Linked DNA regions of Homo sapiens: all the other regions are linked to region 1. The links are contacts of gene promoters, found by promoter capture Hi-C in blood cells and fetal thymus (Javierre and others, 2016). All regions are on one chromosome and are shown on one strand. The core of a region is centred on a gene start or on the middle of the fragment in contact, and the rest is flanking DNA. Distances in the headings are between cores, read along the strand shown.

What was found. Contacts are between HindIII fragments. The CHiCAGO score rates a contact against its expected background, and 5 or more counts as called.
Region 2: a fragment that was not itself captured here is called in contact with the fragment with the promoter of RBM11 in region 1 in 3 of 17 cell types (M0 macrophages, M2 macrophages and naive CD8 T cells); the score reaches 9.3 in M0 macrophages.
Region 3: a fragment that was not itself captured here is called in contact with the fragment with the promoter of RBM11 in region 1 in 6 of 17 cell types (activated CD4 T cells, naive CD8 T cells, naive CD4 T cells and 3 more); the score reaches 8.8 in activated CD4 T cells.
Region 4: a fragment that was not itself captured here is called in contact with the fragment with the promoter of RBM11 in region 1 in 1 of 17 cell types (total B cells); the score reaches 5.7 in total B cells.
Region 5: a fragment that was not itself captured here is called in contact with the fragment with the promoter of RBM11 in region 1 in 6 of 17 cell types (total B cells, naive B cells, M0 macrophages and 3 more); the score reaches 9.0 in total B cells.
Region 6: a contact is called between a fragment that was not itself captured here and the fragment with the promoter of RBM11 in region 1, in 4 of 17 cell types (monocytes, megakaryocytes, M2 macrophages and 1 more). The highest score is 11.0, in monocytes.
Region 7: a contact is called between a fragment that was not itself captured here and the fragment with the promoter of RBM11 in region 1, in 1 of 17 cell types (total B cells). The highest score is 7.1, in total B cells.

What each region holds. Positions count from the first base shown.
Region 1 is chr21:14,213,900-14,218,157 of GRCh38, reverse strand. RBM11 (RNA binding motif protein 11) reads right to left here and starts at 2,001. Exons shown (of 5, transcript NM_144770.5): 1 at 1,876-2,001. The coding sequence starts at 1,971. RefSeq lists a silencer at 1,955-2,184. The HindIII fragment of the contact is 12,542 bases long and covers 1-3,240 here.
Region 2 is chr21:15,851,172-15,855,429 of GRCh38, reverse strand. The region is part of intron 20 of USP25 (ubiquitin specific peptidase 25); the gene reads right to left. Among named protein-coding and RNA genes, the nearest start is that of USP25, 120 kb to the right of the region's middle. The HindIII fragment of the contact is 1,985 bases long and covers 890-2,874 here.
Region 3 is chr21:15,828,567-15,832,824 of GRCh38, reverse strand. It overlaps USP25 (ubiquitin specific peptidase 25), which reads right to left. Exons shown (of 26, transcript NM_001283041.3): 15 at 2,224-2,294; 16 at 1,196-1,424. Among named protein-coding and RNA genes, the nearest start is that of USP25, 100 kb to the right of the region's middle. The HindIII fragment of the contact is 874 bases long and covers 1,728-2,601 here.
Region 4 is chr21:15,761,720-15,765,977 of GRCh38, reverse strand. USP25 (ubiquitin specific peptidase 25) reads right to left here. Exons shown (of 26, transcript NM_001283041.3): 2 at 3,010-3,087. Among named protein-coding and RNA genes, the nearest start is that of USP25, 34 kb to the right of the region's middle. The HindIII fragment of the contact is 349 bases long and covers 2,016-2,364 here.
Region 5 is chr21:15,585,350-15,589,607 of GRCh38, reverse strand. The region is part of intron 1 of LOC105369302 (a long non-coding RNA gene); the gene reads left to right. Among named protein-coding and RNA genes, the nearest start is that of USP25, 140 kb to the left of the region's middle. The HindIII fragment of the contact is 2,851 bases long and covers 579-3,429 here.
Region 6 is chr21:15,559,894-15,564,151 of GRCh38, reverse strand. All of the region lies in intron 2 of LOC105369302 (a long non-coding RNA gene), which reads left to right. It overlaps LOC124905056 (a long non-coding RNA gene), which reads right to left and starts at 892. Exons shown (of 2, transcript XR_007067935.1): 1 at 749-892. The HindIII fragment of the contact is 3,147 bases long and covers 500-3,646 here.
Region 7 is chr21:15,459,204-15,463,461 of GRCh38, reverse strand. No RefSeq gene overlaps it. Among named protein-coding and RNA genes, the nearest start is that of USP25, 270 kb to the left of the region's middle. The HindIII fragment of the contact is 1,585 bases long and covers 1,277-2,861 here.

The DNA of each region.
Region 1 (4,258 bases), core at 752-3,251:
TTAGCAACAATCACACTATCTTACAGTATTTTTTAAATCACAATGAAATACATAGTGTGATAGTTGTCAAGTTTTGCTGGGTGTTGAAGTCTAAAGTGGAAGAGAAACTCCACTTTGGCAATTCCTTTCAATACCTAGACAAAAATAAGAACTTATGCTTCTTACCTGATCTATTAAATAAAATTTATATTTTGCTTAGGTGGAAGAAGGAACTGATAAAGAATGAGAAGATAATATATAGTCTTGTGGATCCACACAACTGATATTGATCGAGTCCTGATTGACTAAAAATAATGGTTATTGGATAATGCAATCCCACCCCAGTCTTCCACTCTCCTTTTTTTGGAGGCTCAAAGTGAAAGAAGTCTTCTGGAGAAAAATAACTCTAAGTTTACTTTATATTTCTTTCGGTTTTTGTTGTTGTTTTTTTTAACTTAATATAGTAAGTTTTAAATGATACTGAATGAAAAAACAGATATGGATTAGAGTTCATAAAAAAGGAGGCAAGTTTAAAAAGATGAATTAAAAGGATGAACCTAAAAGTCTTAAAATCAATAATATTTTTCAAATAATAAAAAAGTTTTACGTCCAGGAAAGGAAACTGTATTCCTGGAAAGAACCCTCTCTACCAAATTGTATCTACAATTAAAAGAGGGTTGCTTTAGTTAAGTTTCGAGACAAAAGTAAGTCCTTTCACAACCAAATAAAGGACCCCTTTGACCCATTCAATCCTGAAAATTTAGTTCTGTAATTGCCTCCCTCGGAACTTTCCCTTATTCTGATAGGAGAAAGTAACTATTGATTTCTCTTGATGTTAGTATTATTACTAATAATAACAGCAGTACCATTAGCAGTAGTAGCGGTAGCAAACAGCGAGTGCTAGACTCAGCTGTAGCCATTTTACCATTAGGCCACATATTCCGATAGCCACATTATACTGCAGATACTACTACTCTCTTTTGACATATAAGGAAACTGAAGCACTGAGGAATTCATTGACAGGCTCAGAGTCACACTGCTGACCTCAGAGTTCGCACGCGGAACCACTTTTCTATCTATGTCCCTTCTCTTTTTATAGATTATCGTAAACATTGTAATTTTAAGTTCTCCCTGTTAGGAAGATAAAAGGATGTCTCGTCAATTTGTTTTCCCAGCACCCTCAGTATTTGCCCCGTAATTCCGGATCATTACACGGTTAGGGGAATGGCTGAATGAGTGTATCTTTTTGGCAAGTGATACCTAGCTGTATAGGACAATACGATAAGTGAGCGTGTATACAGGACACAGCAGGCTTAATCCTAGAGGTACCAGATCTCAAAGTTTCCGAAGGTCCTCTTGGTATGAATTAAAGGGCCTTGTCCAGGGAATCACCTGGTCACAGTCACGGTAAGTTGGCTGCCAAATCATCTCAAATCTCACTTTTCATGCTGGAATAAAAATACTGTCCGCATAAAAGGGCTTGAAGGAAGGAGCAAGGTGTAAAAGGAAACATTATAAAAGCGACCCCTCTCCTTTTGGGGGATGTCAGGCGTGCTTACTACTTGACGGAGAACAGTGACCAGGCTGTTTTCGGTTCTGCCCGCGCACACCCGAGGCCCAGGCAGCCTCTGGGAAGCCCTTAATCAGAAACGGGGGTTGAAGGAACCACGTCCCTGCCCAACCCCAGGACTCTGCAGCGCGGATGGGGATGGGGAACGCGCCCTCATTTCACTCCCCAGCCGCTCACCTGGAGACAGGTGCGCCAAGAGGAAACGAAATTAAAACCCCTGCTCAGGATGGGACGGAAGGGGGCCGGGCTCCGGGTGGTCCAGGTGCGCGCTATGTTTCCGGCCCGACGTGCTCCGCCCCTCCGCCGCCCCTTCCCAGAGACGGTACCTGAAGGAACAGCTCGTACAGAATCTCTTCCCGAACTCGGGCCTCTAAATTCCCAACAAACACGGTCCTGTCGGCCTCCTCCTGAGCAGGGAACATCCTCCGGTCTCGGCCGTAGAATGAAGTAGGAGCTGAGACCCCGCCCCTTCTCCGGCTTTACGGCGCCGCCTGGGTGAGGGGGCGGGGCCGGCGCCGGGAGCGCGCGCTGGGGGCGAGGCATGGCTCCAGGGCCACGCCCCCAGCGGACTTGGGGTACCGCCCACCGCACTGCTCCCTCGCCTGGCGTAGGGCTGGGCGGTGGGAGAGTGGGTGAGAGTAAGAAAGATGAATGCAGAAAGGGCTTTACTCTTTAGCTAGTGGGGTGGCTTCCTTTTTTTCTGGCACATTAATTGATTTTGGATTTATTCAATCAACATTTTAAATAAAGTCACTGTAGAGATGATTTAAATTGTGGTAACTTCATTGCAGAAGCTCCCAGGCAAATGCGGGGAGATACATTTCTTTGGGTCCAAAGAATAAATGAACAAATCATGAAGATATTAAACTATAAATAATTTTTGAAAGAATCGATGTTTGCATGGATGTGGATACAACAGAAAACTAGAATTAAAGTTTATTTTCCTAGAAAGTGCTCCCTAGATGAGTTTTTGAAACTGGTCGCAGAGGTTTTAAGTGGACTCCAAAAGGAACTTGAGAAAGCAAATACCAAGGGATATACTGGTGAGAGTGAGCCAGTTTTGTGTCTAAGCCAGAATTTTTGAGGATGGCAGCTAGGGTTTGTGTCAGGATCCAACGGCTGTACTTTGTTTCAGGGCTATACTTTGTATATGGTGTACCAGGCTAAAGGCTTAGTTCTTTCTTGGGGATAATTTTTGTTTTTAATAAAAGTCTTATGAACAATAAAATTACAAGAAAGGAGAAAGAAAACTTAGAATCTCAATACTTTGATAAATCAGCTGTCAACTGTTAACTTGGCTTCCTTTCTGAAGCTACCATACGTCTACATAGGACCTTGAGATCATCTCATGAATATCATATAGGTGATCAGAACATTATTTGACCTTTAGTTTGGCATCGTGATAAAATTTCATTTTGAATTGAGGAAGCATGCTTTTATCTGGTTGATGGACCAAAAAAAGTCATCTTTTCTAATGAAAAGGTACACATTTTAGGAAATCCTAATTTCTAATTGATCTCTGACATTACATAGTTTTATTACTTTGAACAAGTAATTTCTCTTTGGAATTCGGATTCTGTTTCTTAAGGAATGGATTGGACTAAATATAGTTACTTCATTTAATAGGTATTTTCTGAATGCTTAATTCTTGGAAAACAAAGGGAAATATAAAAGTCTGACCTCCTAAAGCTTATACTTTGGGAGAGACAGCCTTTCTACCCTCACAAATATAATATAAATGCTAGTAACTTCAGTAGTTACCTTCAACTGATATAAGTCCTGTCTCCATTTTTTTTTTTCCTTTTTCTTTCCTCTATCATCAGTAGAGTTGCGGTACAGTAAGAAGGAGTTAAGGAAACACTCATATTGTAGGCAAATAAATATATGTTGATCAAATGAATGGATACTTGCAAGTCTCTGTTATGTGTAGACCTCTTGATTTATTTGTATTCATTTACTTCATAAATCTCATCAAAGCAACATATTTCCTCCTTGAATTCCCCTCAGACACTTCTTATATGCAAGCTGTATCTTCAGGTTTCAGTTTAAACCATTGCATGTATATGAGTGCGTATGCTACAAACCTTTAACTACACTTGTAATTAATGTTCATATTATATTGTTCTATTGAAATTTGCATCCTTCTTTGTCTACAAATGTGCATAATTTTGGTGTTATAATATCCTCTTCTGGCCGTACATAAGTTTATAGTGCTTATAATTCTAGAATACTTAGTTAATATTATAAACTCTGAAAGTCAGCTTCTGTAGTTAGCAATTTTTTCAGAATATGATCTCAATATATCATTTTTCTAATGTAAGCATGTTCTGTTTCTTAACTCATATTGAATGCATGCATGGTAATAAATCTAGTAGTAGGTTAAAAATAATTCACTTCACTTTCAGTATTTACTGTACCATTAGTCATATATCAGGTTTTAATGGGTTAAATACATGTAACACTCTATAAAGAGCTAGCCTTTCTTCATTTATATCAGGATGTCTGATGTCCCTAGCTGAATGAACATATAATAAATGAAAATATATGTATATATACATGTATACCTCTGTATGTCTATATATGTATAATTAGAGCTCATTTCTTTATCTTCTTTTGCCCAGCCAACTTTTTTTTTTTTGAGATGGAGTTTTGTTCTTGTCGCCCAGGCTGGAGTGCAATGGCCCAATCTCGGCTCACTGCAACCTCCGC
Region 2 (4,258 bases), core at 633-3,132, 1.6 Mb before region 1:
GGAAAGTATCACTCAAAAAAAAATTCACCGAGTTGTACTTTTCAACATGTTTTATATTCTAATAAACATTTTTATATCTATTGAATAAACAAGGTGATTAAGAGACATTTCAAAAGCAAAAAAGGGTGATAAAGTTACGGCAAGTAGGGACACCATTATTATGAAGCAATGAAACAACTATTAAGAAAAAATTTTTATAATACAAAAGTATTACTTCAATAAAACCCTAAGGGTACTTTGATACCGACAAAATTTTTACAAAAAAAGAAATTTTAATGTCTTTTAAAATAAATGAAAAAACTTACACTAATCCCATAATTGTAATTATAATATGACCCTCCCACCTCTACACATATATACAAGCAACGAGTACTTTGAAAATATTTTGTTTTTATCTTCTGGCTTTTATTTTTGCTTATCATAGTAACTTTGTATTGCTTTCCTCTGAATTTCATTTTTACACAACAGAATCTTCTCTCCGTAAGCCACTATTATTTGGGGATTTTCTATAGTAGAAACTAGTTTTAACCATTAAAGTCAATTTGAAGAAGGACTCAAGTTAGTGTAGTGTAGCCCATTGCATTTTTTTTTCCAGATCAACTTTGCCTATTAACTTTTTCATACTGCATTCTTATTGGGTAGACGTTCACGTGGGATGATGGCCTGTGGTTGAAAGAGTTCCTATGACTGGGTTGGTAACTTCCTAATTCGGAGGTTAAACTTTAGCAAGTCCACTTACTCAGACCTAAGTTTCTTATAACAAGGCTGACAGTGGCATCACTATTCTTATCACTAGCAAACATTCAGAGTATTAAAAAGTTGGTCTAATCATAATACATAAGGAAATCCATATTCAGAAGTACCTAAACAGGCACAGAGTTAAAAAGCTTTCTTTCATAGCCAAAAAGCTAATGTAAAATAGACCCGACCAAGATTTTTTCAGGACGTGGCAGGACAGAAGAGATATTAAAAAAAAACAAAAACACGGCCGGGCGTGGTGGCTCACATCTGTAATCCCAGCACTTTGGGAGGCCGAAGAGGGCAGATCACAAGGTCAGGAGTTTGAGGCCAGCCTGGCCAATATGGTGAAACCCCGTCTCTACTAAAAATACAAAAATTACCTGGGTGTGGTGGCGGGCCCCTGTAGTCTCAGCTACTCAGGAGGCTGAGGCAGGAGAACTGCTCGAACCTGGGAGGCAGAGGTTGCAGTGAGCCAAGATCGCACCACTGCACTCCAGCCTGGGCGACAGAGTGAGACTTTGCCTCAAACAAAACAAAACAAAACAAAACAAACAACTTTTCCCTCAATTTATAATACACTAAGCACAAAAAAGAACAAAAATTTAAAAATACTATATCTAATTGAGGGGAAACAGGAAGACAGAAGCAGCAACCATATGTTAGATTCTATGGTGTGTACATATTTTATGAATTAATACTGAATGATGATGATGATTAGAATCAATCAAAAAAAGGAAGAATATTTAAACATGCCAATAACTATGGAATGAACCAAAAAAATGTGTTAAAAGATCTACCCCGCAAGAAGGCGCTAGGCTCGTATGATCTTACGAGTGAGTTCTAACTAACAGAACAGATCATTCCAACGCTAACACGGTTAAGTATTAAAAAAAACAGGAAAGCTCTCAAATTCATTTACCAAAGCTAACATAACCCTAATTGCAAACTTGATGAAGACAGCACAAAATAGAAAAACACCAAATTCATTTAATACAGAACGCAGAAAGCCCAAATAAAATGCTAATGAGTTAAACAGTAAGCATTTGAATTTAAAAAATAAAAATTTACTAAGAAAAGTATTTTAAGTAAGTAGTGGGAAAATTTATATAACTTTGGGTAAGAGTAGATCTTTTAATATGGCAAAAAAAATCCATAAAGTAGGAAAACGAACATACTATTTTAAAACCTGTTTAAGAAAAAGTACTCTAAACTAATTCAAATAGAAATGGTAGACTGGGAGAAAATATAGGACACATGTCCATAAAGAGGGTAAGATACAAGAAATGAGAATATATCTATAGCATGGAATACTGTGTGGGTGTACATGTGTGCATGTGTGTGTACATGTATGTGTACACGTGTGCGTGTACATGTGTGTACCTGTGTGTACACATGTGTACACATGTGTATGTGTGTATACAGACAGCTAGTAAAGATAATGTGATACTGTCTAAACTTTAAGCCCACAATAGATTTCTGAGTGATATAAGTTACAAAATATTATGAACAGTAAAATCTACATTAAAAAAATTTTAAGTCTCTGTATATGTGCATTGTTATAAACAAAAAGAAAAAAACAAGATACACAGTGCTAAGAATGGTTACAATAGGGCCATGGCAGTGGCAGAGACTGTCATTGTTAGTTTTATTTTAGACACCTCTATATTACTGAATACAACTGCATTTTGTATACATTACTTTCATTTTTTATACGAAAAAATTTTTAAGGTGACATATTATCAGCTAGAGTTGTGTCCAAATGCTTCTACCTTTACCAAAAACATGCATTAATTAGAAACAACTTGATGTATGTTTACATAAAGGGGTTACACTCATGTATTACTCAATCACAGATAGGTGCAAATGTACACAAACTTCAGAAATTTTATAAACATATACACACACTAAAGACATAAAAAGGTAGAAAGAGGGTTTTATGATAGTAATTATTAGGTTAAGCCAAACAAAACTGCTAATTTTGTTACTCCAAAATGGTACTGACAATTTCTAACAAATGAGTTAAAAAAATTCTATTAGCAAATAAAGGTCCTTGACACAGATATGGCACATTCATTTTTCTCATTTTTCATCTCCGACTATATGTGGACCAGAACTGGACACATAAGATAAGCTTCGTGATAATACTAACAACAATAACAGCTAAATTCTGAGCATTTACTATCAACCAGATACTACTTTAAAAGCGTAACATTGATACAATTTATTTAAAGCTCACAATGACTCAATAAAATAAATAGTTATTTAACACCTCGGGAAACTGAGATACAAAGATTGAATAATTTGCCCAAAATCAAAGCTAGAAAGCAGTCGGCCCAGGCAGTCTGGCTGCTAATATCAACATATAAACTACTTCCTTCCTAATGTACATTCCCACTATTCTTGTAAGTGTTTTTCCAGCAGAAAAAAAAAAGCAAGAAAGGGAGTATGATGATAGTAAGGAGAATGGTTAGTGAAATAGAAATTCTGTAGTAATTATTTTTAACATCTGACAAAGAGCACAGTTTCCTTATGCTATGAGTAAAACGTCAAATTCGACTCAATCTCCAAAGCAACTTGAAAACTTTTACCTCAGATTCACTGAAGTTTATTAACCACAGTATTTATTTAGATTATGTGCTGAGAGTTGCAATATAACATAACTTATTTAAGAAAATGCTCTGTCCCTCTTCCACAAACTTGATTCTTGCCCATGCTTTCTTGCTGTACTATCAAAATCATAGAGCAAACCAATAAAGAAAAATATATGAAATATGGAAAATACACAAAGGAAAGGATGCAAAGGGAATCCCCAGAATGATGGTGAAAGGAGATCTCAAGTTACTAGTTATGGATCAGGAGAAAAGAAAAACCAATACAGATTGGGGCAGGTCATAAAGCTCCAGAATAGATGTCCCAAGAAGATAAAACTGGTAAAGGCAGAATGAGAGGAGATTTAAACAAGCAGTGGACAGCTTTGAACTAAATCAGTAATACACATAAACTAAGCAAACCAAAAAACAAAACAACTAAGTTTAAGGAAAACAAAAGTTAAGGGAAAAACAGAAAGTAGTAATATTTATAATATAACTCAATCACATATAGCATACATAATAATATTACAAATGCAGAATTCTGATATAATCAAAATTACAAGATTTTACGTGTGTGTGTGTGTGTGTGTGTGTATGGGGGATAGGAGCTGTGTCTCTCAGTGTATGTATGCGACGCAGGAAAAGAAAGAGAGCTCATCATTCATATTCCACAGAAGCAAATTCAACAGGTAATGTGTAAACTGTGAATAAAAAACCCAAATATTCTATTTAAAGATATGAATTAATGCCAAACAGATTAAATAACTGAAAGTCATTATCCACTGGGGGCTTACTAACTGTTGTAATATATACAATTAGGTGATTATTTATATGCAGATATTAACTTAATAAAAATGAGATTTGCAATTCAACATAAGAAGACCCAATCTGGTCAGAAATGACAATGGCACTGTAAATCATAAATA
Region 3 (4,258 bases), core at 915-3,414, 1.6 Mb before region 1:
GGATGGTCTCGATCTCCTGACCTCATGATCTGCCCACCTTGGCCTCCCAAAGTGCTGGGATTACAGGCATAAGCCACCGCGCCCGGCCATTTTTTTTTTTCTTTGCTACTCTAACAGTGATGTAATACTACTTCTGCCACTATTGGAAAATACCAGATGTTTGATCACTTAAAAAGTAAAACTTTTCACAAAATGTAAACAACTCATAATCATGTTAACCTTATTAGCTCAAAATAAAATGAAAATTGTTTGTCATATGAAGAAATTAAGTAGACTTAAATATGCAATTATGAAAATTAATATAGCAAGATCTTAAAAACAATAGAGTATTCAGAAGAATTACTGAACTTCTACTACACACACAGAAAAATAACTTCATTTTTTTAGTCAGAAGTGGACTGCCTAGCTGATTCTGAATGACTAAATATAAAAAGATTATTTTTATCAGTTTCAATAAACCTTTATTATTTTCTATATGCAAAGCATATATCAGAATATCAGCATTAAAAAGATTCAGACATAGTATGACATGATCTCTGGCTCTGAGCAGATAAGAGAGAAATGTGCAAGACAAGTCATCACACAGTTCCAATACACAACAGTAAATGCCCAGTAGACAGATGCCAGGACAGCATAAGGAGAGATACTTTTTGGCAGATCAAGAAATAGTTTGCAGGGGAAATGACACCTGAATTGAATCTTGACAGATAAACAAGAATTAGGCAAAAGAATTACTAGCAAAAAATAAAACATATACGAACATGCAAACATAAATGTGTGAAATGGTTTGATATGAGCAGATACAGCAAGAAGTTCAGTAAGGATATAAATTCAAAAGGAACACTGGTGATCAATGAAGGTGGGGAGATAATCAGAGGCCAAGAACAGAGGCCATATATGTTAGGCTAAGGAATTAAATATTAAATGTGAGTCAATCTGTGGAACAGTCACTAAAGCATTTTTAGCAAGGACGAAAAAGGTCATATTTACCTTTAATAGTTGACTTGGAATACAAAATATATACGAATTCTTAGCCCTGACGACATTACTTTTCAATTCAGTCTTGTCAAAACCCAGTAGCATTTCCTAACCACATCCTTCATCGTCTGAGTGAATTACACTTAACTAATCACACCACATACCAGAGCCACTTTTATGACTATTTAAAAATACACACCACCCTATATATTCTTACCTTGTATTAGGAACTGTGCCTTATCATTTATGTACATTAAACAGTATGCACTGGCATTTCTATAACCACCAAAAGAGTCCCTCACTAGCTCTTCCCATGATGATTTTGTCACAGCAATATCATTGTACTTCATCCATCTGCTTTCACGATGATCAAAAATATATGCCCAGTAGTGCCCAGCATTAGCTTGGCCTTCGTGAACTAAAACGGCATGTAATCGATAAGGAACCTAAATGTGAAAAAAAGAAGAGTTAAACTGCAATTATGTAGTTTACTATATACCACATTCCATGAAACCCACAAACAACCTGTTTGGAGAAAACCATAAGAGCATTTTTTTTTTTAAATGAGAGAGAACTGGCTGGGCTTAAAAGTTTGAAAAAAACTAAACTATAAAACTTTAAAAAGACGGAATCTGAATAAGCTAAAGATATGCAAAGTTGATAGATTAAAAAGATGATTTTTGAAAAACTAAAAATGTATTTATTGTGTACATACTCATTGGCCTAATTGTTTATTTGAATAAAAAGCTTATAGTGGGCAGTTTTACATATAGCAAATGTGTCTACATCTTCAGAATTCTAAATTGACGGTTAACAAAATAGATTATATGATATACACCAGAAGTTAAAATGTAATGGAGTCCTTAAGTTTCTTCCCAAATCTTAATATCCTTTAACAACCATAGATTTTCTCCCATAAGACTTTTTAAAGATGCTATAGCCTTTTGAAAAACTTTGGTAGATTTTACTGTAAAATAGTAAGGGTACACAACACATACGGTGTGAAAATACAACTGAATGGGGAAAACTTGTCATGAATTTTGTTATAAATTTGTTATAAAAGTTTCCCCATTCAGATGAACTGTCACATTGTACATATTGCAAGCCCTTATTATTTTACAATAAGATTTGCCAAAATTTTAAAACAAAACATGTAAAGAAAAATTAGATTAAGATAATGTAAAGGTAAATTAAAATATATGTAAATAATTTTGACAATGATTACTAGCTCAAAATTTCACTTACTTGTATCATAGATTTGTCAGAGTACATTAATTCAATTGTTCGATGGATTCTGGATATGCTTTCCTGCAAATCTAAGGATATAAGGTGTCATTTAATGATTAACAGCAAATGTGTTTCTACTTATAAGATAAGGACTAATGTTTTTCCTACAAACATGTTAGAGGAATAGGAAAATTTTCCTAAAACTTTTCTTAAAAAACATTACCATTTGAAATCTGTAGAAAATGAATTATAGTTATTCTTAATAAAAGACACAGTACAAATGCATACTTTAAAAACAACACAAATATGATTTATCTAGAAAATGTGCAGAGCCAATAAAAGTGAATTTTGTTCAAATCTATAAAGGAGAGTTTCAATGAAAATGAAAGCTAAGCTTCCTTACATATTGCTATAACACAAGTAAACTTAAGAACAAAGTAAAACATGTTCACCACATATCTTGTACACACACATAACTGAATAAAAATCGACTATAATCACCAGTGAAAATAAAATTATGGCACTCCCATGACAATTATTTCTACTTCTAGTAGAAAATAATCCTACAAAATTGTTCAGATAGGGATGTTCACAGTCATATTGTCCACAATAATTTTTAAAAAAGAGATAACCTAAATATCTGTCAATAAGGAAACGGTTAGATTGTAACCACATCATATTGTGAAGCTGCTGAACCAATCAGGAAGAAACCTTGAAAAACTATAAAAGAAACTGGCTAACTTTAGAGTGGGGAAAGACCTGTCTTAAGCCTGTCAGAAAACTAGTAACCTTATAGGAAAAGATAAGATCCTCCCTGCCCAACACTTTAAAAAATCTACATTATAAAAAGAAAACAAAACCAACATAAAATCAAATGAAAAACTGGGAAAATAATATCTGCAGCATATGTGATATTATAGGTAAAGTGTTAATATCCACAATACATTAAACTTTCTATTAAGTAATAAGAAAAATACAAATAGCTCAATACTTAAAAAATGGGCAAATGTCACAAACAAGAAATTTACAGAACAATATAAATATCCAACTTCACTCGAAGCTAAGGGAATGCAAATCAAAACACTAAAATACCAGTTTTTCAATTGTGAAAAACTACTAAAAAGTGTCCAGGGCTAGGGAGGATACTGGGAGACAGGCTCTCTCACACAGTGGGAATGCAAACTGGTTTAATGTTTTGGAGTGACAATTTTAAAACAGTCGTCAAAATTTAAAATATACACACTCTGAACCAGAAATGGTGGACATAAGGAAACAACAGATATTGGGGCCTACATTAGGGTGGAGGGTGGGAGCAGGGTGAGGATGGAAAAACCACCTATCAGGTACTGTGCTTATTACCTGCATGATGAAATAATCTTACACCAAACCCCCAAGACATGTAATTTACCTTTATAGCAAACCTGCACATGTACCCCTGAACATAAAAAAGAACATATCCTACTTACAGAAGTGTATAAATATGTATATCGAAGACCAGCACTATTTAGGAAATATCAATATGGGAATTAAATGAATTACATCATACCCGTGTGTTGGAATATTACACAATAGTTTACAAAATAATGCTAACTGCTAACATCAATATGGATGAAAGAAAGAAAAAAAATATCCTGAGGAAAACCTTCTTTCCTGATCCATAGTATTACATATAAAAATCTTAACAGCCAGGCATGGTGGCTCACGCCTGTAATCCCAGCACTTTGGGAGGCTGAGGTGGGCGGATAACAAGGTCAAGAGATTGAGACCACCCTGGCCAACATGGTGAAACCCCATCTCTACTAAAAATACAAAAATTAGTTGGGTGTGGTGGCACACAACTGTAATCCCAGCTACTTGGGAGGCTGAGGCAGGAGAATCGCTTGAACCTGGGAGGCAGAGGCTGGAGTGAGCCCGAGTTCATGCCACTGCACTCCAGCCTGGTGACAGAGCGAGACTCCGTCTCAAAAAAGCTCTTCAAACTTAAAATGGCCAAAAGAGAACTCATCATATTTCTCTTTCCTCCCCTGAGTGGGAACCTCTTTGCCCACTGCTT
Region 4 (4,258 bases), core at 941-3,440, 1.5 Mb before region 1:
AGTATCAAGTGTTTTGAAATAATTTTATCCATCAAAAAAAGTTATACAATATTCTCCATAACTCTCTAGAACAAAATTGCTTTAAATTTGCAATTAATCTATATGTGATTCTAATTTTATAGTGTAAATGCATCATACATAAAGTATACTATATCAATAGTAATACCTTTCTTACTAATTAAAACTACTGATACAATGTAAAAATCCATCTCTAATTTCTTAGTCTTCATTACTTTCCTATCTGCTTAATAAAAGTGAATCACAAACTTATACTTTTGAACAAATAAACTAAAAAAGGTCTTCTGGAACTTGCCATACGAAAGAGTGCAAAATGGGTATTAAAATTAGTACTTCTACAAACAAGGACAATAAAAGATATTCCTTTTAATCTGGGTGCTGGATACATACTTAGGGGCAAACTTAAGCAAAATGTCAAGGACTCATGGGAAGAAAATGGCAAAATGTACTGAAGGGCTTGATAATATGGAATTATGGAAAGACACACAGAACTCTAGACAGAAATACTCAATACTGTCAAGATGACAATCCTGCTCAAATTAAATAGATACATTTTGCATAGTTCTCATCAAAAGTATAGCTGAATAAAATTATTCTAAAGTTTATTTAGAAGAAAGCAGATGCCAGAATAAGAATTTTAATTTAAAACAGCAAAATGAGAAGAGACTTGCCCAGTTACATCTTTATATTCTCTGCACAACTGACAGCAAGTAAAACGTTAGCTCTAAAACAGTTAACCAAAACAACATAGGAAACCCAGATATTCACAACGAAGCTATCTTTGTAACAGAAAACCAAAACATGGAAGGCTCTGTAGGTTCCCTAAGAACTTAGACATGCACACGGGTGTAATAAGAAGCCAGTGGAGTGTTTTGGAAAGGAATGACATAGTATGACTTACATTTTAAAAAGTTTACTCCATGTATTAAGAATAGACTAGAGGAGAGAAAGGGCAGAAGACAGCATCCAATATTATTGCTATCTTATTAAATGTGGGACATGACAGAAGTAGGATCAGGATGATTCCAAAATTTAAGGACTGAGCAGCTGGCAGAATAAAGTCCCCAAGACCTACCCCAATTCCAGTTGTAGCAGTCAGTGACAAAAGGAGTAAGGATGCAGTTTCAAAGGCACCACCACTTTCAAAAATGCTATCTGTCATGATCATTAGACGATTCCTAAGTGACTCATCCAAAATGTAAGATACACTATTGTTAAATAAGTAATCTAACAATAAAATAAAGCGCAATAATGATGGCTAACATTTATTGAGCACTTACTATATGCCAAGAAATGTGCTAAGTGTTTTTCATATATTACCTCATATAATAATTTAAAACAACACAGCAGGAATTTACACAAATTGAAGTTCATTTACTTTTTAGAGCTAAAAATATGTTCTCAAATTAAAAGTACTGAAATTAATCAATGACATTACAGTGCTCAAAAGTAGACTTCTCGTCAGTATTTATAATGGGCAACAATTAAGGTTTAAATACACTCTTTTCCCCTAGCTACTGGTAACTGAAACAAAAATTTTGGAAAATTAAAAATACCTATGCTCACACAACCTCTATCAAAGGAAATGTGGATAAGACTTCATTCGAGCTACATATTTTCTAAGTTTAAAAAAAAAAAAAAAAGCAAATTCCCCAAATTTACCCTGGCAAGGTGATAGGCTATGGTCTCACACTCAGTAATACATAATGAAAAAGGCAGTTTCTGAAAACAAACATGGAATTTAGTAATGATATTTATCAGAATAAAAAGGGACTAGCAATTATCTAAACGTCATAATCATAAAAATTGAGGTATAGCACTTCTGCTTCCTCTCCAAATACTTACAGTGGCTTCATACACCCCGCATTAATGCTCTAAACACTACTATTTCATGATTTTCCTGATGGGGGAATAAGGTGAAGCAAAGCTTCTAGTAAAAGAAGCATAAATTAAGTGTGGCACCTGGGATCAGGCTGCCTTGGTTTCTATTCCAAGCTTCTCCACATACAGGCTGTGTGATCCTGGGCAAGTTACTTTAACCTCTCTGTTGCTCATCTTTTCATAAAGGGGATGAAACTAATACTTATCTCATAGAGTTATTTATTATTAGGATGAGCTAGCCCACATACAGTACTTAAAATACTGCCTGGTAGTACTAAATGTTTAATCGGTACTACTTATTGTTATAATGACTTTTATTATAATCATCTAATAGATTATTTCTAAAAACAAATAAAGAACTCTAGGCTTGAAATCAAGTTCCAAAGGATTGGAGCTGTGTATATGACTGCAGTGGCAAAAATGCTATATTGTTTTTAGCCTATAGTAGTAATATGCAAATAAGCTTAAAATACTGTACAGTTCTGGTTCTTAAATAGCTTTCATTCACTCTTTTTCAATGTGAGTATCCATATGATATGACTCATTTGGATGTCGATGTGAAACTGAAGGTCCAACTAAGATATGACCAAAATGATACATTTTAGTTGTTGCCTATACTGAAGAGTTTGAAATTGAATGTTTAACTTAGGGTGTAATTAGCTGAATGGGTGCAAATTTATATCTCTGCTTCTCAGGAGAAGAAAAATGTAAGTTTTCAGACTTCTATTAATTTTCTACTTTTCCCTTCTCTTACACCTCATCCTCTAATACACCCCACCTTGAACCCTCATTTAAACTCTAAAATCACAGCTCGTAAGTAAAACCATCCATTAGAATTAGGATTCACATCCCACTATCTTGCACAAAAAGCATTTCATATATAGAAAGAGGTTATCTGTCACTCTAAGGTATCATGGACATCAGACTGCTGAAAGCTAACATCCTCAAAACCGCAGTGTGTTAACTGAGGATTTTACTTTACAAAGTCCATTCCTGTATCTCTAAAACTACCACATGGTATACCCCAAAAAAAAAATCAACTATCAAATATAATACGCACTAGAGATGAGCATATACCACAAACTGTATATCATAAAACAGAGGCCATACCTTCAAGGCTTGCTGTAGTATCTGGGTGTCATTAATCCCCGTAATTTCTCTCAGTTGATTCAAAAACGTCTGCTGGTGCTAGAGGGAGGAAAAACCCAAAATCATTATATTCTCAACTCTGAAAATATACTAGGAAAAGAAAACAAATCACCTTTGGTTTTCCAAAACAAACAAAAAACAGAATAAAGTAAACTAGAGTAAAAAAGGAAAAAGAACTTGAGAAAGGCCAAACAACTTCATTCTTTTAGAAAGAATGAATCATGCTGTGGAGAACCCTTATTTCATTCTCACGTTTCGAAAAGGTAACTTCTCTACATTACTCCCCAATAAGTCTTACTGAATTAGCAGTTTCTGTCCTTTTCTTCATCCCCTCATTTATGCCACCTAACAAGAAAAGGGGCCTTATCCATGATGGTAAGCACAAGGAGAGAAACACCTTTGGAAAAGACATGCTTTCGGCAAGACATAACTCGGTGGGTAATTATACCACGGAGATCTTCAGATCTACTTTAAAAAGAAGATCATTTCACTGTCCAATCTGTCATAAAAGATTCTAAATTGAATAGATCATTTGCCCCCATTTGCTTCAGTTCTTTATATGCTATTGGCCTATAAAATTGACTGCATTGTACTGGAAGGGAAAAGAGGTAGAGAGATAGGATTTCACTATCAAACTCTCCCCTGATGGCCCTTAAATAAAAACCAACTTCCTCCTTACATCTCTGTATTTCTTGAAGTTCCCAACACTATAGAACAGTACCATGAAATAAAAAATCACAATGGATATGATAGGAAAAGCAAACCTAGTCAATAGAATAGGATCTATTGAAATCTTTTTTAAAAAGATGTTTCACATTTATCTCAGCAATAATTCAGTCAGGAATCTTCAATGGATGATAAAACTACTGAATGAAAGTTTGATCAGGAACAGAATATTTACATCATTTTAAATTCTCTTCCACAAATTATAAAGGGAGAAAGAATAACTTTATTGTGTTAACAGTGGCGAACCCGTACAGGTCTACAGCAAGCTCACTTCCTGCTTCCTCAGAAGGAATTTGACCAAGGCGCATAGGGCAGAGAGAGACATCAAGGCAAGTTTTTAGAGCAGGAGTGAAAGTTTATTAAAAAGCTTTAGAGCAGGAATGAAAGGAAGTAAAGTACACTTGGAAGGGGGCCAAGCGGGCAACTTGAAAGATCAAGTGAACAGCTGACCTTTGACTTGGGGTTTTATACACTGGCATGCTTC
Region 5 (4,258 bases), core at 755-3,254, 1.4 Mb before region 1:
TCTATTTCTTATTGATCTAGGAAACAAGGGTATAAACAACCTAAAAGACTTCAAAAATGCTATTTTAGCTGCTGCTGATCTTGAAAGCCAAAATGAGAGAATAGTGGAATAACAGCCCAATCTAGGGGTAACCTGGGTGAAAAGCCAAACACTTAACTGAATTGGTTGTCCTTTCAATCTTGCCTTTCATTCCCAGGGTGGTAGAAAGGTATTCAGATGTCTCCATTATGTTGCTTAATCTTGCTGGCCAAAAAGGCTGAGGGTTCTCATTAATTTAATGGGAAGCTGCTAAGTCCTTACCATTCTCACTATGGAATGCACCATGGTCAGCACTATCTGTCATTCCCAATTTATTATTGTCTGATAGCTAACATGCTGCTGCACTTGACCATCTTAGGGAATCCATTCTCTCTTCGTACACTTTGGATAGAGTTATTTCAATATAAAAACAGCACATTTTAAATGTCAAATAATAAACAAACATGTTAATGATTTTTTAAATAATTGTTTTCTTTGAGAAAAAGAATTTGTTGGAACATAATCCATATGACATTAGAATGTAGTTGAGACACTAAGCTTTCTTTTTTAAAGTTGTGAGCAGCTGGGAACAGTGACTCATGCCTGCTATCCCAGCACCTTGGGAGGCTGAGGCAGGCAGATCACTTGAGCCCAGGAGTTCGAGACCAGCCTAGGCCACATTGTGAGACCAAATCTCTACTAAAAATACAGAAATCAGCCAGGCATGGTGGCAGGCACCCATAGCCCCAGCTATTGAGGAGGCTGAGAAGTGAGAGGATTGCTTGAGCCCAGGAGGTCACAGCGGCAGTGAGCCATGATTGTGTCATGGCAACTCAGCCTGAGTGACAGTGTGAGACCCTATCTCAAAAATAATAAAATAAAATAAAATTAAAAAGTGTGGGCAATGTCCCTAATTTGCAGTTTATGGATTAAATGTTAATTTAAAGAATACTTACAACATATACCTATTCTCTTAGAGATTCCATTATAACTCAAACTAAAATATTCTATGTAACTAGATGGTTAACCTCAGTGAAAGATAAGGAACATAAGGCTAAGAGCAGTTAAATCATCAGGCAGAGGTAACACAGCTGGTCAGGTGAATGGAGCCCAGAACATCTAATTCCTCAACTGGCACGTTGTTTTTCACTATGCCAAGTTGTTCTTGCTAGGAATTCTTTGGATGCTGGTTCACCTGGGAGATTGAAGGGATGAGCCAGATTGCTCTCATACCTTGGAGTTCCAGGTGGAGATGGGGAAGGAGGGGGAAGAATCCCTAATTTGAGCAAGTTTTATAAAGAGGATACCATTTGACGCCACTGTGTGTTGAATAAACATGGAGATAGACCTGGTCCAATGGAAAGATTATGAATGTTTCCTTGATGGTTACTTGATCACTTGACTCTTAGTTTTCCTAAGAATAAATAGGAAAAAAAACATAAGCCTTGGGAAGTTGTTTAAGGGAAAATTGGGTAGACTATGTAAAGCATCTAGCAGAGTGATTTACTCACATTTGATGTTTAGTTAACATAAAAACTACTTTACCAGGCTTCTAAGGCAATTAACCATTTAAACCAAATTTGAATTAAAGCTAGGCATGGGGTAAGAAAGCAAGAAGTAAGAGAGACTTGGAGTCTGGTGTACTCTAATTAAGTTAAATGTGCAAAGGAGAAAAAGTGTTAATCTTTTCCTTACCTGTTTCAATGTTCCCAGCTAAGGCACCTGTAACAAAAGATAGATTAACAAGAGAAAAACAAATCTATTTAATATAAGTTTTGCCTGACATGGGAGCCTTCAGAAATGAAGACCCACCGGATACAGTGGCTCACGTCTGTAATCCCAGCACTTTGGGAGGCAGAGGCAGGTTGATCACTTGAGGTCAGAAGTTCGAGACCATCTTGGCCAACATGGTGAAACCCTGTCTCTAATAAAAATACAAAAATTAGCTGGGAGTGGTGGTGCATGCCTGTAATCCTAGCTGCTCAGGAGGTTGAGACAGGTGAATCTCTTGAACCCAGGAGGCGGAGCTTGCAGTGAGCTGAGATCGTGTCATTGCACTCCAGCCTGGGTGACAGAGCAAGACTCCTACTTGAAAAAAGAAAAAAAAAAAAAGAAAGAAACAAACAAAGTAAAATAAGAAATGAAGACCCCAAGAAACAGGGAAACTCGTATATTTTTATGCTTAGGTAGGAGGAAGAGTGGAGAGTTGTGCAGAAGTGTAATTGGACTAACAAGGTATGATCTAATGGTAACAAACCCCATCTTAGCAAGGCCTGTTTGCTCAGATTCTTCTCTGTGTCCCTCTGACTTCAGAGATAAGAACATTCTTTCCCTCCAGGTACAAGGAGGGCACCTCAGGAAACAGGATTTTATGATCTGCTTCACGGGAAAGTCAGCTGATTTTATTCTCTGCTACAGGAGAGAAGGTCAGAGAATTATTTCTACATTTTATGGCCTGCTTCAGAGGAGAAGGGGCAAGGGGAAGGTGAGAGTGACCTTCATGTTTCTACTATTTTCTCAAATGTCAAGATGCCACATCCTGGGTTAGTGTGTCCTGAACTCCATCAAATGCAAAACTTTAAAAGTTCAGGAACATACCAGTGTACTCTTTTGTTTGTTCAGGAAATACAGTGCTGTTTAATAAAGTTAACGAATCATAGGCCATCTAGTCTGTGTTTCCGAAGCATTCTCTCTCACCTTGGAGTATTTCAATCTTAGCAATTGCTAGCATCTAATAGGATCATCTGCAGAGGCACCAGAAAAGACTTCTGAGAGCAATGCTTTTAACTGAGACTTCTTTCTTGAAATTTAGATTGTTACATCTTTTTCCCCTTTGTGCTCTAGTTGCAGTCAAGACAATTTTCTTTTGTCCTGTGATGGTATTTTCTGCATACTATTGATCTGAGGCAAATAGTATCTGAGAAAAGAGAGTTTTCTTAGGCTATCGTGCCTTTCATCAAACAAGATAAATCATCAAATGAGCAAATTTGAGGTCTGTCTGGTTGTTATTCTTCACACAGTTTTGCCATGTGGATAGACATTGAGAGAACATGTACTCCACTGGTCTTTAGAGAATTAACAACAATATATTCTCGAGTAAATGTAGGCAAACTTGCCTTCCTGGTATTAGTGAGGCTCCTGGTAAACATTACTGAATAAGACACAGTCATTATCCTTAGGGAGCTCACAATTTAGCACTTGTTTATTGAACTACTGAAACAATTTATAGAACTGAGTTGTTAGTCAAGAAAATGAAAAAGGAGCTACAAACCAGTGTTCACAGAGAAGCAGATTTCCTGCTTTTAAAAAGCAATTCCATATACAAACGTTTGCTGCAATGTAATAAACAAGACTATTGGAAGAGAAAGAAGTAATTTAACTCTTTTTTTTTTCTAGTGGTCTAATCAAGCTTCCACCTAAAAAGAAAGTGTAAACTTTCACCCTTTACAGGAATTTAATTTTCGCTTAAGCTATCCGTGTTGCTTCTTTTTCCTCTTGGATCATACATTACCTCAACTCCAAGTTTAGATAGACAGGCTATTAGAAATCTGAATAGAATGATTTCCTTCGTTCCTTCCTTCCTTCCTTCTTTCCTTCATTCCTTCCTTCCTTCTTATCTTCTTTAATTGTTTTTAATGATTATTAAGGCCTGAAAAAGTCAGAAATGAATTAACACATACCACCTGATTTTATGTATGGTGAGAGAAAAGGAGTGTGTTAAATGTTTCAAGAGAGTATTTACAAAGAGCAATGGGAATACAAAAGAGAAAGAGAGTAGATTGAAATTTGAGTGATTTGTAAACTGGGAACAAAAGCAGATCTTTTTTTTTTTTTTTTTTTTTTTTTTTTGAGACGGAGTCTTGCTGTGTTGCCCAGGCTGGAGTGCAGTGGCACGATCTCGGCTCACTGCAAGCTCTGCCTCCAGGGTACATGCCATTCTCCTGCCTCAGCCTCCCGAGTAGCTGGGACTACAGGCGCCTGCCACCATGCCCGGCTAATTTTTTGTATTTTTAGAAGAGATGGGGTTTCACTATGTTAGCCAGGATGGTCTCAATCTCCTGACCTCATGATCTGCCCGCCTCAGCCTCCCAAAGTGCTGGGATTACAGGTGTGAGCCACTGTGCCCAGGCAAAAGCAGGTCATTTAACTCCAAAACTTTTGCTTCTAGACTTTTGTTATAGGTATGTCTTCCTTTTTTGAGACTCTGTTAGTGGTAGTAATGAGGAGATTAAGTATTAGG
Region 6 (4,258 bases), core at 824-3,323, 1.3 Mb before region 1:
TTGTTTGTTAAGAAAAATAGGTCATTTGTCTTGTTGATTTTCTGACTGTAACCTCTATCATTCTAAATTTCCTGCACATTAGTAATTGGTCTGAAGGTTTGATTAGATGTTTAATTAGATTCAGGTTTAACTTTTTCTTTTAGCAAAATTAATTCGTAGGTAATATTATGTTCTCCTATTCAGAGGCACATAATGTCCATTGGGTTTACTTTCATGGTTTTAGCAGCTATTGCTTATCAATACCTACTCCGTTACCTCATTTATAGTTGTAAAATGGTTATGTACTAATTAAATTATTCCTTCCTCATTTATTAGCTGAAGTATTTCTATAAAGAGAAACATCCCATCTAGTATTGTTTACCCTTTGGTACAGTTCATATAGAAAAAGCAAGATAAATGCTTGAATCTTTCCCTTTATTTAACAGTTTTAAAACAATTTATTGGTATCCTTTGGTGGCAGCTAATTTGTGTTATCAAAGTATCATTATAGACGGAAGCTTATGTGATGCACTTCAATCTATTGTAGTTATCATTATTGACACTCAAATTGCCCATCTTTAACGAGAGCCCTTGGAAGCTGACTCTTTAGTCCCCTCAGATCTGGGAGTGAGGAGATTAGGAGTAGAGGCCGACCTGCTCAGCTGCTCTAAATAGAGTTCCTCAGTGTTCTGCACTGATGTTTGTCCTGTATCTCTTCCACATAAGGTTGGGACACCCTTATGAAAAGAGGTAAAAGGTTCTCTCTTACCTCTTTTTCTCTCTTGTTCATACACTGGCCTGTGGCTTCTTTGTCTATCTGATACTGTTTAATTTCTGTTTTTATGCAAATCTTCCATTTCTGAATTCCTTATTGTTTCCCATGGCTGTTATTTATTTGGCCTTTTGGATGATGCTCTTTGTCCCTGGGGGAAAAGAGGTATTTGGTAAGAGTCAGGAATTGACGGAGTCTGCTGTCTTGATCGAATCTGAGAGATCTTTAAAAAATGTGAATTAAACAATGCTGCTTCCATGACTGAAACTCTAATGGCCCACACCTGCTACAGACCAAGTCCAAACTCTTTAAGGAATTCTGTTATCCTCTAAATCTTGCTTAGCCTTGCTTCTTGCCTGACACCTTCTGCCCCCATAATTTCAGCCATGTGAAATCTCTTGCAGTTTTCCAAACATGGCACACTGTTTCTCCAGCTTATTGTTTTCTGCTGACTATGTTCTTTCTGCCTGCTCACCTGGAGTACACTCCCTTCTTTCTCACCTTTGTCTCAACTTCCCTTCCTCCTTTAGGTCTCAGTTTAGATGGTATTTCTTCCATTAGGTCTTCTTTGAATAGGGTGCATATGTCTCCTACTTTTCCTGGGAAAGTTCTAGATTATGCCTGCTTAAAAATAATTAGTGCCTTTAAATTCTTTTTAATACACCTTTTCACTCTTACAAGTGTCCCTATTTGAATAATACATTATATAATCACTCTATCTCTGAATTTACATTTCCAGAACTGTGTTATATTTCTTTTGTATGGATTTCCATGACATTTTATAATTGCATCTAGCATATTTCAGGTGCAATTATACTTTCCTATTTACTTGCCTTTGTCATGGAAAGAATTGTGTCCGGCTCAAACTCATATGTTGAAGCCCTAACCCTCAGATGTGACTATATTGGAAATAGGTTCCTTAAAGAGGTAATAAAGATTAAACGAGGTCATAAAGGTGTCATCCTGAACCCCTATTTACTCCAATAGGGATGGCACTGTGTCTGAGAGGCTGAAGAAGAGACCTGGAGACAAGGAATAAGACACAGGGTTCTTTGGGGGAACTTGCTTTCAGGGACAGTCCAGTGGCAGCGAGCTGAACAGGAGAAGTGCTACCATTTGTAAAAAGCATGCAGTTCATACAGTATTTTCACACAGTACCATCCATCTAGCAATCACTATTTAACCCAAAACAAAGGGCCTCAATCCGCTGGACAGCCTGTGTTCTAAGGGAAAGGCCAGGGTTTCAGAACTCTGAACACACATTCTTCTTAGACTACAGGGTCATTCTCAGCATATGCTTAAGTTATTGCCGACACGTGTATCTGCTGTAGAAAACGTGAGTCCCTAATGCAATAGGACTAGTGTCCTTATAAAAAGAGGAAAAGACACCAGGAACGCACACAGAGAAAAGGCTGTGTGAGGGCGCGGAAAGAATACAAGCATCTGCAAGCCAAGGAAAGAGGCCTCAGGAGAAGCTAAACATGTTGATACCGCGAGCTTGGACTTCCAGCCTCCAGAGCAGTGAGAAAATAAATTTCTGTTGTTTAAGCCACCCAGTTTGTGATATTTTATTATGGCAGCCCTAACAAACTAACACAGACTTCTTCACTAGATTGGCTTAATTTTTATATCTGTATGATCAGAATATAAAATTAATTTTTATTTTATATCCATACGATCAGTGCTAGGTACATGGTGGGCATTGTATGAGTCAAGGTTCAGTATGACAAAACAGAGCCCTTAAGAATGAAATACATTTGATCTGTGTACCCAGTTACTGTCACCTAGTTCCTAAAACCATTGGAATTTCCTGGGTAATTAGAGTGTCTTTTGTTATTCATGGACCCCCTTTGATCACACCTGTATTTATCCTAATATCTCAATTTAGGATAGAGCCCCTGGATAGCCTCAAGATGCTGCCAGTTATCAGAAAGACCAAGGGATTAAAGAATTAAAGGGTTGGAACTTTCAACCCCACCCATTGACCTGATGGAAGGTGCTGGAGATTATAGCCTATAAAAACTCTTGAACGACGAGATTTAATGAGCTTCCTGGTTATTGAACATGTGGAGGTGCTGAGAGGGTGGCAAACCGAGAGAAAGATGAAAACTGTGACATCCCCTACCCCAGACTTGTAGCCATCTCTTAAATCTAGCTGTTCATCCATATCCTGTATATCCTTTAAAACAAACCAGTAAATGTAAGTAAAGTCTTTCACTCAGTTCTGTGAGCTGTCTTAGCAAATTATGGAACACAAGGAGGCAGACTGTGGGAATCCCAGTTGCTATAGCCATTGATCAGGATTACAGGTCACAACCTGGGCCTTGCAATTGGCATCTTAAGGTAGGGCGGCAGTTTTGTGGGATTGAGCTCTTAACCTGTGGGATCTGACTCTTAACCTGTGGGATCACACAGTGTCAGAATTGATTTGAGTTATAGGACACCCAACTGGTGTCTGCTAAAGAATTGCTTGATGTGTTGAGGGGAAAAAAAACCCACGCGTTTGGTCACAGAGGCATTCTGTGTTAAGAGTGAGAGTAGAGAGAAAAATGTGGTTTTGGTTTTGGTTTGCCTTTTATAAGAAAAAATTCCAACTGGCCTTATGTAATTTTGGAAGTTGCTTAAATGGTCTAACAGAGTCTATTGTCTTTGTGCCTGATTCTGAAGTCTGAATCAGGAAGGCAGCCACCTGTGAAGAAAAGACAAAGGCAAAGTGGTGAAGAGCAAGGAGAAATTGGAACCCACGAGAATGAGCTGGAACTCCAATGGATGAGTTAGAACTCTGTCAGTCTTTCCAAACCTCCAGTTTCAATGCTGAAGGGGTGACCTTCAATCAAAGTTTGAGCCCTTTGTCATGGAACTAAATATTCACCTGAACAGGGAGTTGAAGAAGCTTGTCAGAGAGTTGACGGGGTGTCCGATAGGAGCAGAAAAACTAGGAGTGGGATCTGCCCTATGCTATTATTGGGGCTTGGAAAATAAAACTGCAAAGATTGGCACTTTGACATGCTGAGAGGCCTTAGAAGCTGCCTCAGAATCCAGGTCCCTCTAATATTGTCTTCTTCCCCCAACCCCGCTTCGTGCCCAAGCACAAGAAGGGATTCTCTGGGATTTTCTGGGATTTTCTTATTTCACCATGAAATCTTATTTCCAAAATGAACAAGATTGCCTTCTTCCTCTCCCTGAAGTCCCCCTGTCTCTTTCAGAAAAGAAGACTGAGGAATGCAACTAGAATGGATTTTTCACAAGAGAATGCCTGCTTTTCTGGCTCATTCGAATTCCAAAGACAATCATTTACAAGTTAATTTCTGTCCATTTCTTCTCCTTAAGAATCATTTGCTGTCTCTGAGAAGCATTGTCCACATTCCCCATTCTCCCCTCTCCCCTGTGAAAAAGGATATAAGCTTCTGTACCTCATTGGGTTATTGGGTAATCATTCTCCTGAGAATCACCTGTGCTATGCATGTTAAAATAAAATTGTGCAAGCCTTCTCTGCTATTGTTTTGC
Region 7 (4,258 bases), core at 820-3,319, 1.2 Mb before region 1:
TAAAGTAGTTTTTTTCTAATTCTGAGAAGACTGCCAATGGTAGTTTGATGGGAGTAGTATTGAATCTTTCAAATACTTTGGGCAGTATGGACATTTTCACGATATTGATTCTTTCTATCCATGAGGATGGAATGTTTTTCCATTTGTTTGTGTCCTCTCTTATTTCCTTAAGAAGTAGTTCGTAGTTCTCCTTGAAGAGGTCCTTCATGTCTTTTGTTAGCTGTATTCCTAGGTATTTTATTCTCTTTGTAGCAATTTTGAATGGGAATTCATTCATGATTTGACTCTCTGCTTGTCTATTGTTTGTGTATAGGAATCCTTGTGATTTTTGCACGTTGATTTTGTATCCTGAGACTTTGCTGAAGTTGCTTATCCACTTAAGGAGTTTTTGGGCTGAGACAATGGGGTTTTCTAAGTATAGAATCATGATGTCTGCAAACAGAGATGATTTGACTTCTTCTGTTCCTATTTGAATACCTTCTTTCTCTTGCCTGATTGCCCTGGTCAGAACTTGCAATACTATGTTGAATAGGAGCGATAAGAGAGGGCATCTGTGTCTTGTGCCAGTTTTCAAAGGGAATACTTCCAGCTTTTGCCCATTCAATATGATACTGGCTGTGGGTTTGTCATAAATGGCTGTTATTATTTTGATATTTGTTCCATCAATACCTAGTTTATTGAGAGTTTTTAACATGAAGGGATGTTGCATTTTATTGAAGGACTTTTCTGCATCTATTGAGATAATCATGTGGCTTTTGTCATTGATTCTGTTTATGTGATGGGTTATGTTCATTCATTTGCATATGTTGAACCAGCTTTGCATCCCAGGGATGAAGCCGATTTGATCGTGGTGGATAAGCTTTTTGATGTACTGCTGGATTTGGTTTGCCGGTATTTTATTAAGATTTTTGCATCCATAACTCACCTTTGTAACCACTCCTTTGTGTAGGATCTAAGAGAAGAAAGGAAAGACTTCAACCCACTCACCAGAAAGGTTCAGCCATATCTGATGTTTTGGAGGTGGCAGAGAGTGATCTCAGAGGACAAAGGAAAGGGAACAATGAGAAGGAACTCATCAAAGAAAAGGGGTGGCATAATCCAGTGGTCTGGAGTCAGCAGTAGGTCCTGAGTGGGGAGGGGGTTAATGGATGTGGGTATAGTTTGCCAGCTGATTACAGGAAGTGGACCAAACAACCTTATTTCAACAGGACCAAACAACCTGTTAGTTGAATGATCCATCAAAGAAAACATGATAACATTTGGAACTGAAGAAGCTTTGTTCTAGGAGCCCTGGCTGAGTATACTGGAGAAGGAACACTGTTTCTCTCACTTTGCATAGGTGGCAGTGAGGGTTTTATCCGTGAATTACATTCTAAGCATGGCAGATTTTCCAGGAGAAGAAATATCTTGCATTTTAGGCAGTGCTAGTTCTGATTTCAGCGACATGGAAAAATGCAAGAGACCCCATGTGGTGCAGGCGGGAAGGATAGCAATGAGAGGAGAGTCTCAGCCTGGAAGAGGCCTTGACCTTTAGGCCTGGAACTTTAGGATCCTGGCTCATTCTCTATGGGGGTGAGTGAGTGTGTGAAGTACTGGATGCCTAATCCTTGAGACTCAACCGAAATTGCCATTAGAAGCACTAGCTAAGCCTAATGTAGAATGGGTATCCTTTCTACCACCCAATTACCCTCCACCTTCATGACAGAGGCACAGGCCCAGTTTCACTGGCATGTTGCATGCGAGATTCCCCTTGTGGCCATAACGGCAGTGGCTAGGAAAACAATATTTTAACCTTGGAACAGTTTTTCCATGAATCCAAGGGCCAAAGATTGGAGAGTTCTGGGTTGCTAGCCCTAGCAGCAAGCAATAAAAACTAACAAGTGCCCCTGGAGATGTTAGAATACTTGGGTAGGGAAGCTACAAAACACTTGACTTCCTACAGTTAAACAGAAGGATAGTTTAGGAACAATAAATGTAGGATATTAACATCCATGAGACTATCTTTGTACTTAACTGGTAGGTGGAGTCCACAATGCTTGGACTTATTATGAACACTTATCATCTCATATGTTTATTCATTGACATATCCAGGAACATTTACTGAACATCTGCTAGATGCTAGACACTGTGCTGTCCTCTGGGGACACATTAGAAATAAGGTAGACATGATCTCTCATTTCCCTGGATGGAATTTGCAGTCTAGCTCTTGCATATCTCCAAGGAAACTTCACTATTTTAAAATCATCTTTTCGTTAATTTAAGGCAATGAAATCCAAGGATTTAAAAATAAAAACCTTGCAAATCTGTATAATAGTTAGGCATAGACACTACTTTTAGTGTGTAGAAATACTGATTTTTGCTATTGTTTCCTAAAATATGGTAGAGAGAAGGTGGAGCTCCTTTTATATTCTTGACTGTAGAATGTTCCTTCTTCTCCAAATGGGATGCTCATCTTCTCAATTTTTTTTCATGATTTCAGCATCCAGGAATGAATAGGACACCTGGCCAGCAAGCCAGATGAACTAATTCCACCCAGAAATCAAATGGATACCAGATAGCGCAGCCAAATGATCCTCTCATCCTAAAGGTTGATGTTAGATATTTCCAATTCAGGAGAGATAGGTCAAATAATTTTTCAGCTTCAGACTTTCAGAAAGAAAAATTGCTATTCCATTTTATGATAAATATATTTGCTTAAAGTACCACCCACAACATGAAATATAGCTTGGTCCTTTGGACCCTCTTTAATGCTATTACGTACATGTCAACACCTGCCATGTCAGGCATTAATAATGAGTCAAATAAAATAAATGATTATTAGCACTTAAGACATGTTAGATTTTGCTAGACAATAAGAAGCTTATCAACCCTACAAAGGGATAAATAGATTATATACAGTATGGTTCAGACTTTCAAAAAAATTATAATCCTATTGGGAAGGTAAAATTAAAACACATGAGACAAGACTAAACACAAAATATAAAGAAGTGTATAATGAAGTGACTGAAGCATTGGCAAGTGGTAAAGGGAATTAGGGAATATCACTAATGATTGTGATAGTCCAAGAAGGCTTTACAAACTAAATGGCACTTGTACTGAGTCTTGAGAAAATGTCATAGGTGAAAGTAAACAGGAATTTGCAGATAGGAGATAAACAAAGGTGTAGGTAGTGGTATAAACTTTCTGTGTTTATAGAGCAATAAGTAAACTGGTGTCACTGGAGGGAGAAATGAAATAAGATCACTAGAAGGGTGGATGCTTTAGGGAGGATTTGAAAGCTAAACAGAGATGTTTTAATGTGGGTAAAGAGTAATAAACCATAGAAGATTCTGTTGCAGTGGAAGCACATGCCTTAATTAGTGGCTATAGAAGAACTAATCTGAAAACTATATGAGGGCTTGAAGTGAGAAAGTTGAGTCAGGGAGACCATTAGGTTACCCAGCCACTGGCCAATGGTGTCATTTCTCCACATATAAAACTTTAGGCTTATCTATAGGGGATTTGTTGGCATGAACGGATAAGGTGTAAGTTAGAAAAGAGTAATTCAATGAAAATTCCAGAGATTGGGCAAGAAAAGGGAGAGGATTAGTTTGGGAAGTATGAGTTAGAAGGAGAAGAAAATAGGCACAACATCTACTATTTGGAAGACCCTGGTAACACAATGCTCTGTGTTGGAAAGATTATCTTGGAAATTCTGTTAATGAGCAATAATTAGAGGGCCTTAAAAGAAATTATTAGCAGGGCCCTGATTCTGAATGACCTATACCACCCTGATGAAATGTACACATTATGGAGCAATGTTTAGAGAAAAGAAAAATATTAAGGTCAATGTAAACCCCCATATCCACAAACAGGTCATTATCTGAGATCATCTCTAGATCAAAATGTGAAAAATGCACTATGTTCAAATTAGTATGCAAAATAAAGCATCAGCATGAAGTGAATTTATGTGATTATGCCATGAATAATTCATTAGTACAACCAGTACAATTAGCTGCTTATAATATAATGATATAACTATTGCATTCATGTACAATAAGCCTGACCCAAACTGTAGTAATAACAAGACTTATTTTGAAAGCAAAAGAAAGCCCCAAATGTGTCAAATCCAAAAGCACACAATGGCATGTGTTGCTAGCTAGTGTGAAAAAAAAAAAAAAAAAAAAACTAGTAAGAGGACAGAACAAGTTTATGCCTAAAATTTGCTTTTTAAAAGAGTGTGATTGCTTATCTGAGCATTTTATCAAACATCAAATAA